4 separate regions of the Homo sapiens genome follow, and all the other regions are linked to region 3. The links are contacts of gene promoters, found by promoter capture Hi-C in blood cells and fetal thymus (Javierre and others, 2016). All regions are on one chromosome and are shown on one strand. Each heading gives the region's core, a stretch centred on a gene start or on the middle of the fragment in contact. The rest is flanking DNA. Distances are from core to core; before and after follow the strand shown.

Region 1 (4,019 bases), core at 1,364-3,863, 6.0 Mb before region 3:
GCCTCCTGATCTCACCATGGTTGAAAACCTTCTCTAGATGTAGTCAAATTTCCCTAGTCCATTTGATTAATTTACGCTAAAAGCAATTATTGCATGCCCTCCATGTAGCAGGTCCATTATAATTCAATAAAATAGTATGTAAAGCAGCCGGGCGTGGTGGCTCACGCCTGTAATCCCAACACTTTTCGAGGCCTAGGCGGACGGATCACCTGAGGTCAGGAGTTCGAGATCAGCCTGGCCAACATGGTGAAACCCCGTCTCTACTAAAAATACAAAAATTAGCCGGGCATGGTGGCACGCGCCTGTAATCCCAGCTACTCAGGAGGCTGAGGCAAGAGAATTGCTTGAACCCGGGAGGCGGAGGTTGCAGTGAGCCGAGATTGCACCATTGCACTCCAGCTTGGGTGACAGAGCGAGACTCCGTATCAAAAAAAAAAAAATAGTATAAAGCAAGAGGTTGCTTTTCTGTGAACGAATCTCTAAAACTTTTTGCCCTCAGTTTGGGGCCCCTCTGGTCGTTGTTGTGTCGTTTGTGTACTCTTTACTGTGGGAGAGACTTATAGGCAGCCTAAGAGTTCCCGGAGTCGTTACAGTCGGGGTGAAATAAATACCTCAGACTGATTTTTCTAAAAGAAAAAAAGCCTCCTGTCTTCAAGACTAGACATTCTTCTAGTCAGGTTTTGTTGTTGTTGTTGTTGTTGTTTTTGTTTTTAAACTCCCTCATTAGCTGTTGTGTAATTATTGTCGTTGTCTGGGAAGAAGTCCGTGTAGCAGTTTATCTGTTGTCTTATCAGTTTTCCTACTGGGCAACCTTAATGCACTTGCATGTATAAAATGGACTAGTGCATTTCAAATATCTGATTCAATGTATCCAAGCCACTGCCCAACAGACACCGCACGTTGGAAACAACTGTGAGGTGGGGGTAGAAAAGGCCAAACCAAACAGGGCGGAGTGCAATAAGGGTTGGCAAGTGTCACAGTCACTCATGTCACCAATCCTGATTCCCTGTGAAACATACTGGTTCCTTTCTCACATATCGAGGCATGAAAAAACTTATCCATATTTATTTCATTCATTGTGTCAGACATTTACTGGAGACTTGCAGTGTACCAGGCACTGTGAAGTGCTCAAGGGATGGTGAGATGAATAAGACATAGTGCCAACAGGCACACAGTCTCTTAGAACTACTTATCCTTCAAGTTAAGCCTTACAAAATGTAATTTTTACTATCACAAAGATGGAAAAGGCATAAGGAAGTTTAAGAGCTGATGCAGTGTTTCAAAAAAAGTTAATTTCCATTGAAAGCTTAATGTTGGTCTTTATTTGTGGTAGTTCAAGCATGGTTGCGGTTTTTTTCCATCATGTTTTGAATAAAATGGCAACATGAAGTTCCTGATAATTGGTAAAATAATAAGTAGACTTAAAATTCTAAGATACGTAACATATATATATATATATGTATATATATAAGAATGTAAAATTGAGGAGCAAGACTATTTTTGTTAGGAAATAACAAGGTAAATTATTCTAGGCACTTCAAAAAACGTATCAGAAGATACTTCGAGAAAAAGAAAGTGCTTTAGAAGCGAAATACCAAGCAATGGAGAGAGCAGCAACATTTGAACATGACAGAGATAAAGTTAAAAGGCAATTCAAGGTAAATTCCTTACATTTTTACCCCCAAAGCAACATAGAATAAAATAGTATATTCTAAAAGTATATATAATATATAATGCGATGAATAAATAGAAGTAAGTCATGTAGGATTCAGGAAAGTTGTAAGAATTAGTGTAGAGCACTTTCACATTTTTGAGTTGGACGTGGTAAACTTGAGATCATTTCAAAGAAAAACGTATGAAAGTGAACATTTTAATAGTAATTTCGAAAAAAAGGAAAGCGTTTCCATATGGGGAAAAGCATTTGGAAATGTTTAGGGATGTTGTATTATTGGTATTTAGTGGGAGAGAGACAAATTTCCTAAACATCATGCAGTGCACATGACAGACCCACACCACAGACACGCATCCTGCTGGAATTCCAGTGGCTTCCAGTTGCAAAACAGTAAGGTAAAGGTACTAGGACATTCACCCTATGAAAGAGGAAATCGAGGACCAAATGAATATTGGTTTTATGAATGAAATATTTTTCCCTTAAAGTTGATGACACAACTTTTTGATTATGAAAAAGCTTTCAACATTAAAATTATTCTTTTTAAAGATTTTTAGGGAGACCAAAGAAAATGAAATTCAGGACTTACTGAGGGCCAAGAGGGAGTTGGAGAGCAAACTTCAGAGGCTACAGGCTCAGGGTATCCAAGTATTTGATCCTGGGGAGTCTGATTCAGATGACAACTGTACAGATGTCACTGGTAAGTGTATATCCTATTTATATTTTGAGCTTTCAACATGGCTGTAATGACATGTAGAGCCAACTTTGAATTCTGCTAGATTTCTTTTACTTATCTATATTAGGTTATTGCTTTAACTACTGTTGCAAATAGTGTCGTGTGTTCTCTCTGTCAGCTGCTAAGACACCTCTTCTCCACGAAGTGTATGAATTTGGGGACTGAAGTTCCTTCTACCTTGTCACTCTGCCAACCCTAACCCATAACTTTTACTCTCTAGTCTAAGATATCTACCCCAGCTCCCACCAGCACATCTGCATTTTAGCCAAGGGAAAGAAGGAAGGGGAGAACACGTTCCTTTCCCAGAAGGTACAACCTAAGATCACTTCTCAAATCCCATTAGTCAGAACTATAACTGGGAAGACTGGATAGTGTAATCAGCAGCCAGGCAGACATGTGTCCAACTAAAATGTAGTGTTCTGTTACTGAAGAAAGAAGAGGAGAATGGATATTGGAGTTACTAGTCTCTGCAATGTTATTTCTTTACATAATGATGTATTCTTTGCAACTATCATTTAGAATACTTGCCTTATAGTTCACTGAGTGGTTTCCAGTATAGCCTTGTGAACTATTCAAAAAGTATTTGTTTTATAATTAAACAAATGAAACATGTTTTCTGGAAATAAAAGCTTGAAATCACAGAGTGAAAGGGTTTACATATTCTAAGAAAATGTTAAAGTGTGATTGATACTGAAAAAAGAAAAATATTCTATTTTAAAATGCAGTGGAAAAATGTAGTCACTCTCCCATTTGTAATGAACTGTAAGTATATTCTCACAAATGGATGCATTTTGGAGTAAAATATGGTAACTGACAGTTCCTTCTTAATTTTCATTGTAGTATCATTGGAATCTGACCAACATCCTGGAATTTTTATTGCTAACTTTTAAGGAAAAAAAATGAAGGCCGGGCACGGTGGCTTATGCCTGTAATACCAGCACTTTGGGAGGCCAAGGCGGGCGGATCACGAGGTCAAAAGATCAAGACCATCCTGGCCAACATGGTGAAACCCCGTCTCTACTAAATACAAAAATTAGCTGGGCATGGTGGTGCGTGCCTGTAGTCCCAGCTACTCGGGAGGCTGAGGCAGGAAAATCACTTGAACCCAGGAGGTGGAGGTTGCAGTGAGCCAAGATCGCGCCACCGCACTCCAGTGTGGCAACAGAGCCAGACTCATCTCAAAAAAAAAAAAAAAAAAAAAAAAAGATTCTTAATGGCCAAGAGTAGCTGAGAAAATGCTCTTTTATACCCCAACACAAGTCTTAGTGATTATTTCAGTATTGACATACTCAAATGTACAGTGTTTCAAAACTATTGTAATTGTCTTGGCAAGTTAGAAACAAATTCCTTTCTAGGTCTTTTTTCATTTTTGTTTTAAACATGAAGAAGGAACACTTGAGGGGGAATGTCACCCATGTGAGATTCAAAGAGCTACAAATAGTAAGCTCAGTTTTGCCAGAGATTTAGCTCAAATAACCATTTACTTAAGGTTATCAAGGATGTAGATATTCTGACAAATATAATTGATTAGAAAATCATCATGTTCATAAGTAGCTATTGATTCAGACATTAATTTTGTTGCTCTAGGAGGTTGAGAAGGAGGTACTTCCTGCT
Region 2 (4,397 bases), core at 689-3,188, 7.8 Mb before region 3:
AATCCCATAGCTATAACTATGAGGGAACAAATATAGATTAAAAGATGTCAAATGTGCATCACCCAAACACAATAGGCAGATCCCTGTGGGATTTTGGTTCAAACAAGCTAATTGTAAAAAGACATTTAAGAGACAGTTGAAGAAATCGTTATCTGACTGGATATTGACATTAGAGAATTTTTATTAATTTGTGTATGTGTAATGACAGTACTGTGGCTCTGTAAAACTGAAAAACCTAGCTCCTGATGGGGGCGGGGAGGCGGACTAAAATAACATAAAGATCGGAGATTCAGTTCCTGAAACCTTCTGTCAATGTTGGCTTTAGCTGAATTTCAAGTCAAGTTGACATTTTTTGAAAGCAGGAAGCAATGACAGAGTGGACTACTGATGCTGTCACCATCTGCCAGCACAACATAAATTAGAACAGAAAGGACTAAGCAAAGGTCTTCCACCATTTTAACGAGAGGAAATGGCATCAGTACAATCAACATACACAATTTTTACAAACAACTTTTAGATTTGCATCTACATACATTTTAAAAGGCAGTGTGCCTGTTTATAAATCTCTACTCTAATTTAGTTTCAGAGCTTTTTACTACCCTGATCACTGATAATGCCACAGTCAAAAAGCAAACTCAAAATAAAAATCAATCTAAAAATGGTACTGCATGCCAAATAAGAAAATATATACACTTTATCATTAAGCTACAGCTAACAGAAATCTAATCAACGATCCTTATGATTTCCTCGTATCTAAAAAATAAATGCAAGCACTTGAGGAACTGTATAAATACAGGGCATCTACCCTACAATACTGCTTTATTAAAATAATAAATTCTTTTAATAAGTTTAACCAGACATAAGGCTCAGGGAAAACTACTCTGTGCATATCAGCGTACGGTGCTGAAACTGTAAAAGACGACCTGTCTCTGACATCATACTCATCTTTACTCTCCTGATGTCGTAAGGGACGTAAGAAAAACCACATTATAAGCCTAAATGTACTGTCTTCAAGTATCTCCATGATTAAAGTGTTCCTAAGAAACCGTCCTTATTTCTTTCTATCCCTCATTTGTGTGCATGGAGCCGTTAGTTCAGGGTTCTCCAATTTCAGTCCACGATTTATGCCACATTTCCGTACCTCTTGTACTAACATAACCGTTTAAACCAACTCACTATTTTAAAAGCTGCCAACCTTAACATGCCACACTAAATGAGCGGGTCCCCTTGTGCCGTGAATGAAGTAGTCCCAACAGCGCTAGCTAGACAGCAGCCCTGGCAGGGAGGCCGCACTGGGGTCTCTCCGCTGAAAAGGAAGGTGGGTCCGCCGGGGAAGGTGAGTACTGGGCGCAGCTCGCTCGCCCACCTGGCCACTCTCCGAAGCGCCCCCAGCCACCTGGACTCCGAGGAAGGGCTGACCACCTGGCGGGGCCGAACCCCACGCCGGGCTGCGCCACGCCAGACTCCGCCAGTGTGCAGGGCATAGCGGGCCAGGCCGAGGGACTGGGCTTCGGGGCGGACCCAAGCCGGCGGGGACGCGCCTGGTGGTTCGCAGGCCGTTGCGCAAACCGGCCGCAAGCCATGAGGCCGCGAAGCCAGAATCACCAAGGCAGCCTGGGCCGCCTCCAGACCAGGACACGGCAGCCCCTTGCCCCTCCAACTTGCGCACCGGCGGTTACAGGGTTGCCGCAAGCACGCCCCTGAGCCTTCCCGCCGTTACCTCGGGCCGGCGCTGCGCACGCGCGCCACCGCTAAGCTTACGTCCAGCCTCTGTAGTCGGCGCGTTTGTTCCGCCCACTGCCCCCACACTTTTAATAATTGAAACAATGCCTTCTCCAGACTTCCCCTGCACGCGAGCAAATGAACTCACCCACATCCGGGAATCCGAGGAAAGCGAGTGCAGACACGTGATGCGGGGGAGGGGGGGGGGGCGTGGCAGGAGCAAGCGTCTGCCGCGGTGGCCGGGTGCCGGTAAGGGTTTCCAGCGCCCCCGGCCTAGGTTTTGGAGGCGCGGGAATGCGTTCGTTGCTCAGTGTCGGACTTCCCCCTATTCCCATCGGCCGAGGCTGTCACTTTACGCTCATAACCGTTTTTCTTTACTGCACTCGTGTCGGGAGGAAAGGGACTTGCGTGGCACCCCCAGACCTCCCCGTCTCCGCTTCCACGTTTGGTACATCCTGCCTGAGGCAGGAAGCCGCAGCTGAGGGACGGCCTGTCGTACGGTGCGGATGGTGGTGGCCTGCGAGGCTCATTTCTAGCAAGGAACAAGGCTTTCCCGCTTTGATTTTATAAATATTATGTTTACAAAGCTGTAATATATAGAAATTGATAAGACGTGTCCCTGTCCCTGGAAACGCAGGCACCGCGTGTTTGGAAAGACATTCATCTGGGCTGTTTGACAGACTCCCCAGTTGGTGCCATGCTCTGTGCTTAGGGAACTGTGAGACCCCTGGAGGGGTGGGTACCGGGACCGCACTCAGCCTGGGGTTTGGAGGCGGCCTCCTATAGGAAGCGACCTGGGACCTAAGATTTTTAGACTGACTGTGGGTTCACTGGAATAAAAAGGAAGAAACAAAGAGCATTGCAGGCATCGGGACTGTCACGTGAGTAAGAAAAGTTTGTTCAGGAAACAGTGGTCGTACTGGGTGACGAGTACTTGGGACGGTGGCTTTAATACACAAGATAATCAGTGTGCCCTGGGCATTGATTATCTTGATGCTTCCCATCCTTCCAGCCCCTTATGAGGGAAGGCACCTTCGCGCCTAATCCCGGAAATGGGATGTTGACCTTCAAGAGCTGACGCCTGCGTTTATCTTGAAAGGAAGAGTGGCATTAGTGATGTGGAAAAGGGGGTTTTAACTGTCAAGGCTGGAAAATGTGACAGGGTTGGAGGTGTTTGGAGAAGGGACAGGTGAAAAAGATTGAGACCAAATGTGGAAAGATCTACTAAGGAATCATGGGTACAAAATGTACACGTAACAGTTGGAGGCAATAATACCTGAGCAATTGACCACAAAGCTGACCTAGCTTGTTTAGTAGATTAAGTTAGGACAAGAAGCAAGAGTTCAAGGATAGAAGGCCTACTGAAGCTCGAGTGATTTGAGAAAACTTTACAAAGGTGGAAAATCTACGTGGGCCTCCGAAAGTCAGGTTTGGATCAGCTGAGGAAAGTGAGAAGGGTATCCCAGGAGACAGAGCAGCAAGGACAAAGGAGTAGCAGCAGGAAAGTGGGGAGCACTTGTAAGACAGGGACTTCAAAAGTATAACCAAAACTTCGTCTTGCTTTGAGTTATCCACTGGGTAGTACTCGGTTAATTATTGAGTACTGGATTAATTAAGCCCTCACCTGGCTCACCGGTGACAGAAGTAGCAGGGCGCATTTTGCTTAACTTTTGCCGAGATCCTTGTCATGGGGGTGTAAACCCTTTCCCACACCAATCTGTGTATAATTTTTGCCAAGGTGTTAGGGATATCTTGCAGTTATCCTATGGGGGACAGCTGTGAGCCTTTTTGGTTTTTTTTGTTTTTTTTTTTCCGAGACGGAATCTTGCTCTGTCGCCCAGGCTGGAGTGCAGTGGCGCGTGGCGCTATCTCGGCTCACTGCAAGCTCCGCCTCCCAGGTTCACGCCATTCTCCTGCCTCAGCCTCCCGAGTAGCTGGGACTACAGGCGCCTGCCACCATGCTCGGCTAATTTTTTGTATTTTTAGTAGAGACGAGGTTTCACCCTGTTAGCCAGGATGGTGTTGATCTCCTGACCTCGTGATCCGCCCACCTCGGTCTCCCAAAGTGCTGGATTACAGGCGCGAGCCACCGCGCCCGGCCCTGTGAGCCATTTTTACAAAAACTTCCACCTGCCTTGGCCCAAACCTCAGCGTTCTTAGGCACAGGAGCTCATGAACATACTGAGATAACACTAAACTGGACTATGCGAAGGGACCAACTACAGACCTGACACAAATCCTCAAGGCAAGACGATGTCTGAAGTTGAGCTTGTAAAGGAAATGGCTTCCTTCCTTAAAATATCACCCAGGCTGAGCTCTGAAAAAAGCACCTCCAGATGGTGGGTTCCACCCCGCTCCACCACCCCAAAATTGCTTATTGTGTGAGTCTCCATAGTCTCAGAAACTGAGAGTACCTTTGATGCCAGTGGCTTCCGGGCTTTTTGGATTGTCACTTGGTAGCAGGGAGCACCCATAGGATGATGCCTATGATGAGTCAGGGCCCAACCTTGGAAACAGGGAAATCCAGAAGTATCCTACAAGCTAGCCAGCCTTTTGGATTAGATTATAGCAGTTTCAGAGAAAAATGGGGAATCAGCCATGGTCAAGGAGCTAAATAAGCATCGTGACCATTTGGGCCAGAAATTGAAGGGAGTGTAGCGTTAAGAATTAGAGGA
Region 3 (4,185 bases), core at 597-3,096:
TTATCTTTCTAAATTCCAATTCAGGTTCCTCCCTCTCGGCCTTCCAACACAAGCCATCTCCTCCCCCATTTAATCCTTGCCACGAGTGAGGTCCACAAAACTATACAACGCCTAGCAAGCACCAAATGTGCCAAGTACTCTGCTAGGCTAAGAAGAGAGGCCTCCACAAAGCACTCTCTCTGTGCGTTTCCTTAACACTTTCACAGACATCATCTTATCCTAGGCAGTACCTAGGATACATACACACCCAATTTTTTTTTTAATGTGGCCATTGAGGCTCAAAAGAGTTTTTTACCCAAGGTCACACAGCTAATGAGCACCTGCCAGAACTCCTGAAGTCTGTCTTTCTAAGCCACCTCCCTAATTCCTCCTTAATTAACTAATTCATCTACACCCAGCTCTGTGCGTTTCATTTAATCCTAGTCCCTTTTACTGGGTTCATTCATCTCTCCACAGTTACTTACAAAGCACCTGCAGGTGTAGACACAGGTGGAGGAAGAGGCCGAGCACAGCAACATGCCCTGGAATTGGCTTGTTTCAATCCCAGCTCTCCCACTTACTATTTACATGATCTTGGATCAGTTCGTTCACCTCTCAGTGCCTCACTTCTCCTTAATCTACAATAATGGGCTAAATAGGGCTGTTGAAAATTAAATCAGTTAACTTATAAAGGGTTTAGTCCAACGCATGGCCCCTACACTGCAATAAGAGCTGCTTTTATTCTTCTGGGTTCTGGGGACAGTCTTCAATCAGACAGGAACCTTAGCCTCAAAAAGCTTACACTCTAGCAGTAAACGCAATAAACAAGTAAACAATTATCAACAGAAGCGATCACTGTGATGAGTGCTATGAAAATAATAAATGTTGGACGCGGGGTGGGAGGTTACTTCAGATTGGGTGGTCAGGGAAGGATTCTCTGGTGATATCTGAATTACAACAAGAATTACAAGAAACAGCGGGATTTAAGGAGAGCTGAAGGAGAGAGAACAGCCGGCGCACAGACCCTGAGCTGAGCCAGCGGCACCCTCCAGGAAAACACGGCGGTCCTGAGGCTGGGGACGAGGTGCGGGTGCCACGCGAGGGAAATGGCACGAGATGCAGTCCCAGAGGGATGCAGTCCCCAGAGGTCGACGGGCAGCGGCCAGCTTTGGAACCAGGGAAGGCATCATCCAAGCGCGCTAGGAACCCACTGGAGGGTTTCAGGCAAGGAAGGGGATCAGATCTGAGCTATGGTTCTTCCTGCGCCCCGCAGATGTGCTGTGGAGAACAGGCCGGCGGGGAAGAGCTGAGTCCCCAGGCAAAGCCCAGGTGGGAGACACCGCGTACCCAGAACGAGATGCGCGCACCTGAGGGGCCACGGGCTGGGAGGCCGGGCGCAAATTCAAGAAACGTAAAAACTAAGCCGACCGGAGCCAGGACGTGGCCAGGGCGTCCCTCGTGTCCCAGGGGCCTCGCACCTGTACAGTTCTTCACTCCTCCTTCCCTGAAGCCCATGTCGCGAAGCTCCAAGGCTGCCAGCCTCGGGCTCGCGTCTCGGCTCAGCCTCTTCCTGGCCTGAGCCCCCGGAGTCTCCCAAGCCCCACGCCCCTCACGCGTGGAAAGAGCCCCGGCCCTGCGCTCCGCCCCGCACCTCCCCCCCGCGCCCGCGGCCTCCACGCCCGCCCCGGCCCAGGCGGCGCCGCTCACCCGGACACCCTGCAGCACCCGGACCCGCTCCTCCTCGTCCACTCCGAAGGACACCCTGCGGCCCTCGCTGCTCTCCGTGCTCCCCATGGCGAGATGCCGCAGGGCCGGCAGCCACCAGACCCGAGACCCGGCTCCAGAGCAACCGGGCCAACAACGCTTTCCAGGACTCGCGCGGCCGCGGCACACGCCAACAAAGCCACGTCCTATTGGCCGACGCCAGAGGCTTCACCAATCGGGTGGCGCTGAGTCGCGGTGCCTTGTGGGGATTGCAGTCCTTCCGTCTGGAGGGGTGGGGGCGTGGCGGTCTGTGCCTGCTAGAGTGCGTTAGGCTGAGGCCGAAGATGTGTACCGGCGGAGGCCCTGGAGTGGAGGGCTGGGTGCAGGACAGGGTCACGTTCTCGCTTTGGGAGCTCCCCCTTGAGGGAGAGCCAAGGGTGATGTTCTGAGGCCAGGAGACGCCGAGACGGCCAAGGCGCTCATCTGGAGGCGAATTTCTGAGGGTTCACTGCTCCATTCATTCAGCAAACACGTGTAGAGCAGCACGGGCTGAGCGCCAGACGAGCAGGGACCTGGCCCTGGCATTACAGCGCCCCTCAAGACAGCGAGTGTCCTGCCCTTGAGAGGTTTACAGTGCAAGGGGAAAACAAGTGAAAAGCCAAACACGCACGCAAGGAAACTGACTGTAATACACGGAAAACTGCATGGCGATGCCACTAGTAAAATGAACAGAAGGAGGCCTCTTTTAATTTCAGTGGCCAGAGCAACCTCTGAGGAAGAAGCTTTGAACTGAGCCGGCGGGAGAGTAGGATTTATGTAGAAAAAGGTAGGGGAAGAGGTTTCCTGGGAGTCTCAGGCAGGAAAAGAGAAAGAGGGGTCATCCCATGGCTGGAAAGTGAGAAGAGGGCAGAGGAGTGGTGAGGACCCAAATCATGTCGGGTCTTGTGAGGCAGGGTCTGAGTGTGGGTTTTATTCTAAACGCCCCGGGAGGACAGGGAATGGTCCTAAGCCGTTAGGAGGCATTGCCCAAGGAGTGTACATACCATGTGTGGAGTGCAGTGTGCCAGGCATTGTGTGTAGGCTTCTTACACAGGACCCTATGTGTAAGGGAGCACACAGACGGTTGCCAGTCATAGACACTGCTACCTTCAAATAAGCCCCTTTTTGTTCCTCTGAGTTGCTGAATGGCTTTGATTTGCAAAAGTGCGCCTGAAGCCGAGCTGAGGAAAACTAGATGGCTACATGAAATAGCCAGAAAATATTTGGAGCTCCTATTGGCAACCTGGAAAGAAAGGGGTGAGGAGGAGAGAATGATTGAGAGAGAGCAGTAAGGCTCTGAGATTGAGAATAGCTCAGGGTGAAGAAGCTAGTAAACATCCCAGAGCTGGTGTGACGATGGAATCTTTAGGAACAAAGGTGTCTGCTAGTTTCATTCAAAATACTTCATTGGCGCACCCCACTCCATCACCTCTGTCGTCCATTTCTTCCCTATAAGCAGAGCCTGCGTAGGGGATTCTGGTGCAAGGAGTTTCCTGGGGGAGCACCTCAGGAGAAAGGAAGTTAGGGAGACAGGCTAAGAGGGGTGGGGACCGGGGGCCGCGGGGAAAACTGAGTAAAGATGTGGTCAGACCTGGTCCTGGGCTTTCCTTTGTCTCTTTTCCTTGGAGGTTTATGATTACTAATTCAATCTCCTTACTCGTTATTGGTCTGTTCAGATTTTCTGTTTCTTCAAGACTCAGTTTGGATAGATGGTATGTTTCTGGGAATTCGTCCATTTCTCCTAAATTATCCAGTTTCTTGGTGTATAATTGTTCATAGTAGTTGATTATGATCTTTTGTATTTCTGTGATATCAGTTGTAATGTCTCCTCTTTCATTTATACTTTTGTTTATGTGAATTACCTTTTTTCTTGGTTAGTCTAGCTAAGGTTTGTTAATTTTGTTGATCTTTACTGTTGATCTTTTCTGTTGTTTTTCTAGTTTCTATTTCTGCTCTCATCTTTTTTATTTCCTTCAGTCTGCTGACTTTGGGGCTTAGTTTGTTCCTCTTCTAGTTCCTTGAGATATAAAATTAGGTTGTTTGATGTCTTTCTTTTTTCTTAATGTAGGTATTTTTCGCTATAAACTTCCCTCTTAAAAATGTTTCTATTGCATCCTATAAGTTGTGGTACCTTGTGTTTCCATTTTCATTTGTCTCAAGATACTTGTTTATTCCCCTTTTGATTTATTCTTTGGCTCATTGGCTGTTCAGGAATGTGTTGTTTAATTTCCGCACATGTGTGAATTTTCCAAAGTTCTTCCTATTACTGATTTCTGACAACAAACTATTCAAAAAGAAATTAAGAAAATGATCCCACTTACAATAACACCAAAAAGAATAAAATATGAATAAATTTAACCAAGGAGGTGAAAGAAAGATGCACACAAAAAATTGCACACTAAAAATTATAAGACACTGTTGAAAGATACTATAGGAGACATAAATAAGTAGAAAGATAGCCTG
Region 4 (4,026 bases), core at 977-3,476, 7.1 Mb before region 3:
TACATACAAAAAAAAGTAAGTCACTGCTTCTGAGGAGAAAACTAGGTAGTGGGGAAAGGAAAGGAAAAATTACTTTTCACCAAATATCTTTTCTAACCTTTTGAATTTTTGTCCCATGTGCATGTATTACCTATTCAAAACTTAAAAGGTTTAATGCCCACTCTTAAGAACTCATTGTAAAGTTGGAAAGAAGACACAGAAACAAAAAATAAGAATAAAATGTGATATAACATTACTGTACATTAAGGTACAACAATGCAGAGGAGGGCATGATTAAATCTACTGTACAGATTGTCAAGAGAATTTGTCACAAAGAATATGTTTCTCCATAAAAATAAGCTACAAATGGTACTTACATCCTCAGATGAACTCATCCTAAAAATGTCCTTAACTGACACACCACAGTAAAGTAAGACTGTCAGACTCCAAAACTCCACAAACATCTTACCCTGTTATTGTTGACTCTGTATACAGCACAGCTGTCAGTAATGGACGTCTGAGTGTCTCTATAAAGGCCTGTTAACAACTGTAAAAAAAACAAGATGGGTGATATTCAACATTTTAATAGCACACCTAAATTGAGTTATATTATTCTAAGTCTCCCAGGTGTAAGGTTAAGTAAATGAATGCTGCTTCCGACAGGTGAAAAAGACGATATTGATTTTTTTTACCTGTAGAAAAAAATCTAATTAATTGCATATTTTACTCCTCAGTGGAATAAAAACAACATTATTCTCAAAAGACAGTTAGTGGCCAAATTTGCCAAGCTTCTGTAAAGATTTTTAACCAACAAAAATGATTTGAAGCCTGGGCAACATGGCAAAATCTCATCTCTACAAAAAATATAAAAAATCAGCCGGGCGTAGTGTTGCACGCCTGTAGTCCCAGCTACTCGGAGGCTGAGGTGGGAGAATCATCTGAGTCCCAGAGGTCAAGGCTGCAATGAGCAGAGATCTCGCCACTGCACTCCAGCCTGGGCATTGGAGTGAGACACTCCCTCAAAAAAAAAAAAAAAAAAAAAATGGAGGTATTTCTTTAATGGAAGGGAAATAATTTATACTCTCAAAAAGAAGAGTTAAAAAGCAGAAAACCTCTCCTATTCACCACATTAAAATACACTGTTAAAAATACTAAATGTATTAAAAATAAATATTAGTAAAAAGAAGCCTAACTAGCCCACTATGTCAAAGAAGGATCACCCTGTGAAAAAGTGTCTTCGATAAACTGTCCTAAGAATTTGTTAACGAAGGAATTATAAACTGTAGGACACTAGCTTCTATGCCTTCTGCTATTCTGGAATGAAACTAATTAAATAAAATCCTTGAATGTGATAAAGACTAAATATCAGCATCTGGCAAGGGCAAACAGAAAAAAAAAAGGAGAAATGACCAATATTTCTCAATTATGGGTTTCTACGAGTCTTTTTGTTCTCCCAAGTAAGTCAAGAATTAACTTCCAAATTTAACAGCATCAGCTTCTTTTACAAAATAAACCGTGAGATGACAGGAATACTGGGATCTATAAAATTTTCTATTAAGCTTAACAGGGGTGTCAATGAAATCATTTACCCTGACAAAGAGCAACGTTTTCCCGGAATCACAAAGGCCAACAAGAAGAACAGCTCTCTGACTGCTCCTTCTGCTCCGGATTAACTTCCAGAAGACTGTGGAATAGACAGAGAAAAACAACAAAAATTACGCCTTGGGAATCAGTATATGTGCATGGCTGGGGTGGGGAAATTCACAGAAGTCTGTGACGAAACACCTCATTCACCTGGAACTGACTTTTATCATAATGGTTACTATTGCTGTTGTTAGGGATCCACTGAGAGCCAGGCACTGTCAACTGTCAACTTTTCTTTGCAGTCCTTACTCTGACTGGGACTCAGGTGCTATCTCACTACCTTGGTATCCCAGCGCCCGCACGCAAACACGGGAGGCTGAAAGTTGGTGTCAAGACCCTGAGTCTTTGCAGTGAGAACAGCGGAAGGCGAGGAACAGCGCGCTCAAGCGTAACAGGGCAGATGACGAAGAGCAATCTGCGCCCCAAGGACCAGGACGTTAACTCCGGGGGTTGCCCGGCATCCCCCTTAACGCCCAGCTGCTGCCGCTGCTTCAGGAGAGAGGGTGGGGTGTAGACTGGGTGGGTCTCACCCTCCTGATGCCCTCAAGGCGCCCTCTCAGCCCCGCGTCCCCGGCCTGCAGCGGTGCAGCCAAAGCCCGGACCTCTGCCCGCCCCAAACCCGCCATGACCACCGGCCGCCTTTTACCTAGCGTCAGCAGCACCGCAAGAACCGCCACCACTACTGACAACAGCGTTGGGTCCGTCTGCTGCAGCTCCTGCCGCAAGGTGTCTAGGTAGGGCTGGAAGGTGCCCCCGGCACCGCCGCCATCTGCCACCCGGCGCGAGTCCGCGGAAGCCATGGATGAGACGCGTGGTCCCCGGTACAGCAAAAGCGACGTGGCCCTGCACTCTGCGCAGGCGCGGGGAGCAGAGCCTCACGCGAATGGTGGTTCCTAAGCCATAGTCTCTCCCTCAGCCGCGGCGATCCCCCAAGTGCTTGATGGGAGTTGTAGTTCTCTGGGACTCCGTCCTCCTACAGAACGATAGGGGCAGACAGGTTATTTGTCGAGGGACACACACATCTTTTAAGAGATGAGTCAGTCGTCGTCACCTACGTTATGACTGTTGAAAGAATGATGAAATGAATAAAATGAATGAATGGCTCCCGAAACTACCACTGAGGAGTTCCCGACCGTCGCTAAGTGACGTGAGACTTGTGAAGAACTCAAGCATCCTACAAACATTTAATCTGAATTTAATGTGACAAGGGATGTGACAGATGGATGTACGGAGCGATGTGGGAATACATAATGGGACGCGGAGTCCATCATGAGTTCAGAGAAAAGCTTCTGGACATTGGAATTGAGTCCTGAAGAATGAGTTAGCATCTGCGAGTGGTTAAAGGAAAAAAAGGTGCTGTGCAGAAGAAAATGAGTGTAAGAAACGATGTATGTGGGAACCCTAAGTAATTCAGTGCCCCTACACTGTCAATCTAGGGCTGCAAACTCAAATGTCTGCATTAAAGGAAGCAACTAGGAAAATCAACGCCCAGGAGAGCTGGGGCTGTTGAAAACTGCAGGAGGTATTTCTGCTGAAAGTAGGGCCGACCCTATTCAGCCAGGTAGGTGTTATGGGACCTGGGTGGCCGGTTCTTCCAGTTTTCAAGAGAAGCAATAAAGGCAGATTTTTATAGGAAATTTTCCACTTTTGAAATTTTCTGTAGGTAATTGAAAGCATTCAAAAACTTGTGGCCCAAATAAAACACCAAAAGTGGCCAGCCTAGAGGGTCCCAGTTCACAGTCTCTGTCATTAAACAGCTGTCATTGTTTTAAAATGTACACATTATTTAATTTAATTGTATGGCTGAGTAGAGACATGAAGATGTCAGTGTCACTGAAAGATTGAAAAAAGTTTATTACAGTTCCACATTGCCATTGAAAAAGTTGTCAGCATCAAAATGGAGTCACTTGTATTTTTTTTTTTAATCAGAAAAATGGAGCTGGTGAAAGGCCATGGAGGGAGGGTTCTCAGGCACCCATGCCTGATGACAAAAACTGTCACAAAAGACTGCAAAAACCACAGACTTGCACAAAGGCCATCGCAACCTTACACACAAAAAAATACATCTGTTAGGACGGCTACCCAGCAACTCCCTGTCCAACCTAGTACTGATGCCATCCTTGCCATTTGATCCTTGTAGCCAAGGATAATTATCTTAAAACAATTATGGAATCTGACTCATTTTTTCTTTAAAAATCTTTGTCTTCCTTTACACCCCCCTGAATATGCACATAGTTGACTATGGCATGCGTAGTCCCATTGCAATGCCTATTCCAGAATAAATATTATTTTCTTTTAGAGCGTCCCTCTCTGCTTGTTATTTAGCTTGATACCACTCAGGGCCACACAAAACCTCACCATGCACAGGGACAAGGAAAAAGAGAGGAACTGGGGGAGGACCCG

What was found. Contacts are between HindIII fragments. The CHiCAGO score rates a contact against its expected background, and 5 or more counts as called.
Region 1: a contact is called between a fragment that was not itself captured here and the fragment with the promoter of CHCHD6 in region 3, in 1 of 17 cell types (naive CD4 T cells). The highest score is 5.8, in naive CD4 T cells.
Region 2: the fragment with the promoter of ANAPC13 here is called in contact with the fragment with the promoter of CHCHD6 in region 3 in 5 of 17 cell types (activated CD4 T cells, total CD8 T cells, naive CD4 T cells and 2 more); the score reaches 13.1 in activated CD4 T cells.
Region 4: a contact is called between a fragment that was not itself captured here and the fragment with the promoter of CHCHD6 in region 3, in 1 of 17 cell types (naive CD4 T cells). The highest score is 6.1, in naive CD4 T cells.

What each region holds. Positions count from the first base shown.
Region 1 is chr3:132,717,344-132,721,362 of GRCh38, reverse strand. It overlaps NPHP3 (nephrocystin 3), which reads left to right. Exons shown (of 27, transcript NM_153240.5): 2 at 1,533-1,658; 3 at 2,219-2,369. It overlaps NPHP3-ACAD11 (NPHP3-ACAD11 readthrough (NMD candidate)), which reads left to right. Exons shown (of 45, transcript NR_037804.1): 2 at 1,533-1,658; 3 at 2,219-2,369. Among named protein-coding and RNA genes, the nearest start is that of NPHP3-AS1, 2.4 kb to the left of the region's middle. The HindIII fragment of the contact is 846 bases long and covers 2,191-3,036 here.
Region 2 is chr3:134,483,526-134,487,922 of GRCh38, reverse strand. ANAPC13 (anaphase promoting complex subunit 13) reads left to right here and starts at 1,938. Exons shown (of 3, transcript NM_015391.4): 1 at 1,938-1,971. It overlaps CEP63 (centrosomal protein 63), which reads right to left and starts at 1,866. Exons shown (of 15, transcript NM_001353108.3): 1 at 1,721-1,866. RefSeq lists enhancers at 934-1,752, 1,844-1,953, 2,034-2,133, 2,164-2,283. The HindIII fragment of the contact is 3,493 bases long and covers 1,759-4,397 here.
Region 3 is chr3:126,701,901-126,706,085 of GRCh38, reverse strand. CHCHD6 (coiled-coil-helix-coiled-coil-helix domain containing 6) reads right to left here and starts at 1,846. Exons shown (of 8, transcript NM_032343.3): 1 at 1,687-1,846. The coding sequence starts at 1,773. RefSeq lists enhancers at 595-1,146, 2,207-2,266 and a silencer at 1,457-1,656. The HindIII fragment of the contact is 1,689 bases long and covers 779-2,467 here.
Region 4 is chr3:133,804,246-133,808,271 of GRCh38, reverse strand. It overlaps SRPRB (SRP receptor subunit beta), which reads right to left and starts at 2,457. Exons shown (of 7, transcript NM_001379313.1): 1 at 2,270-2,457; 2 at 1,569-1,663; 3 at 449-526. The coding sequence starts at 2,423. LOC105374116 (a long non-coding RNA gene) reads left to right here and starts at 2,789. Exons shown (of 3, transcript XR_924513.3): 1 at 2,789-3,184. RefSeq lists enhancers at 1,896-2,005, 2,036-2,085, 2,196-2,405, 2,546-2,605, 2,696-2,805. The HindIII fragment of the contact is 1,371 bases long and covers 1,541-2,911 here.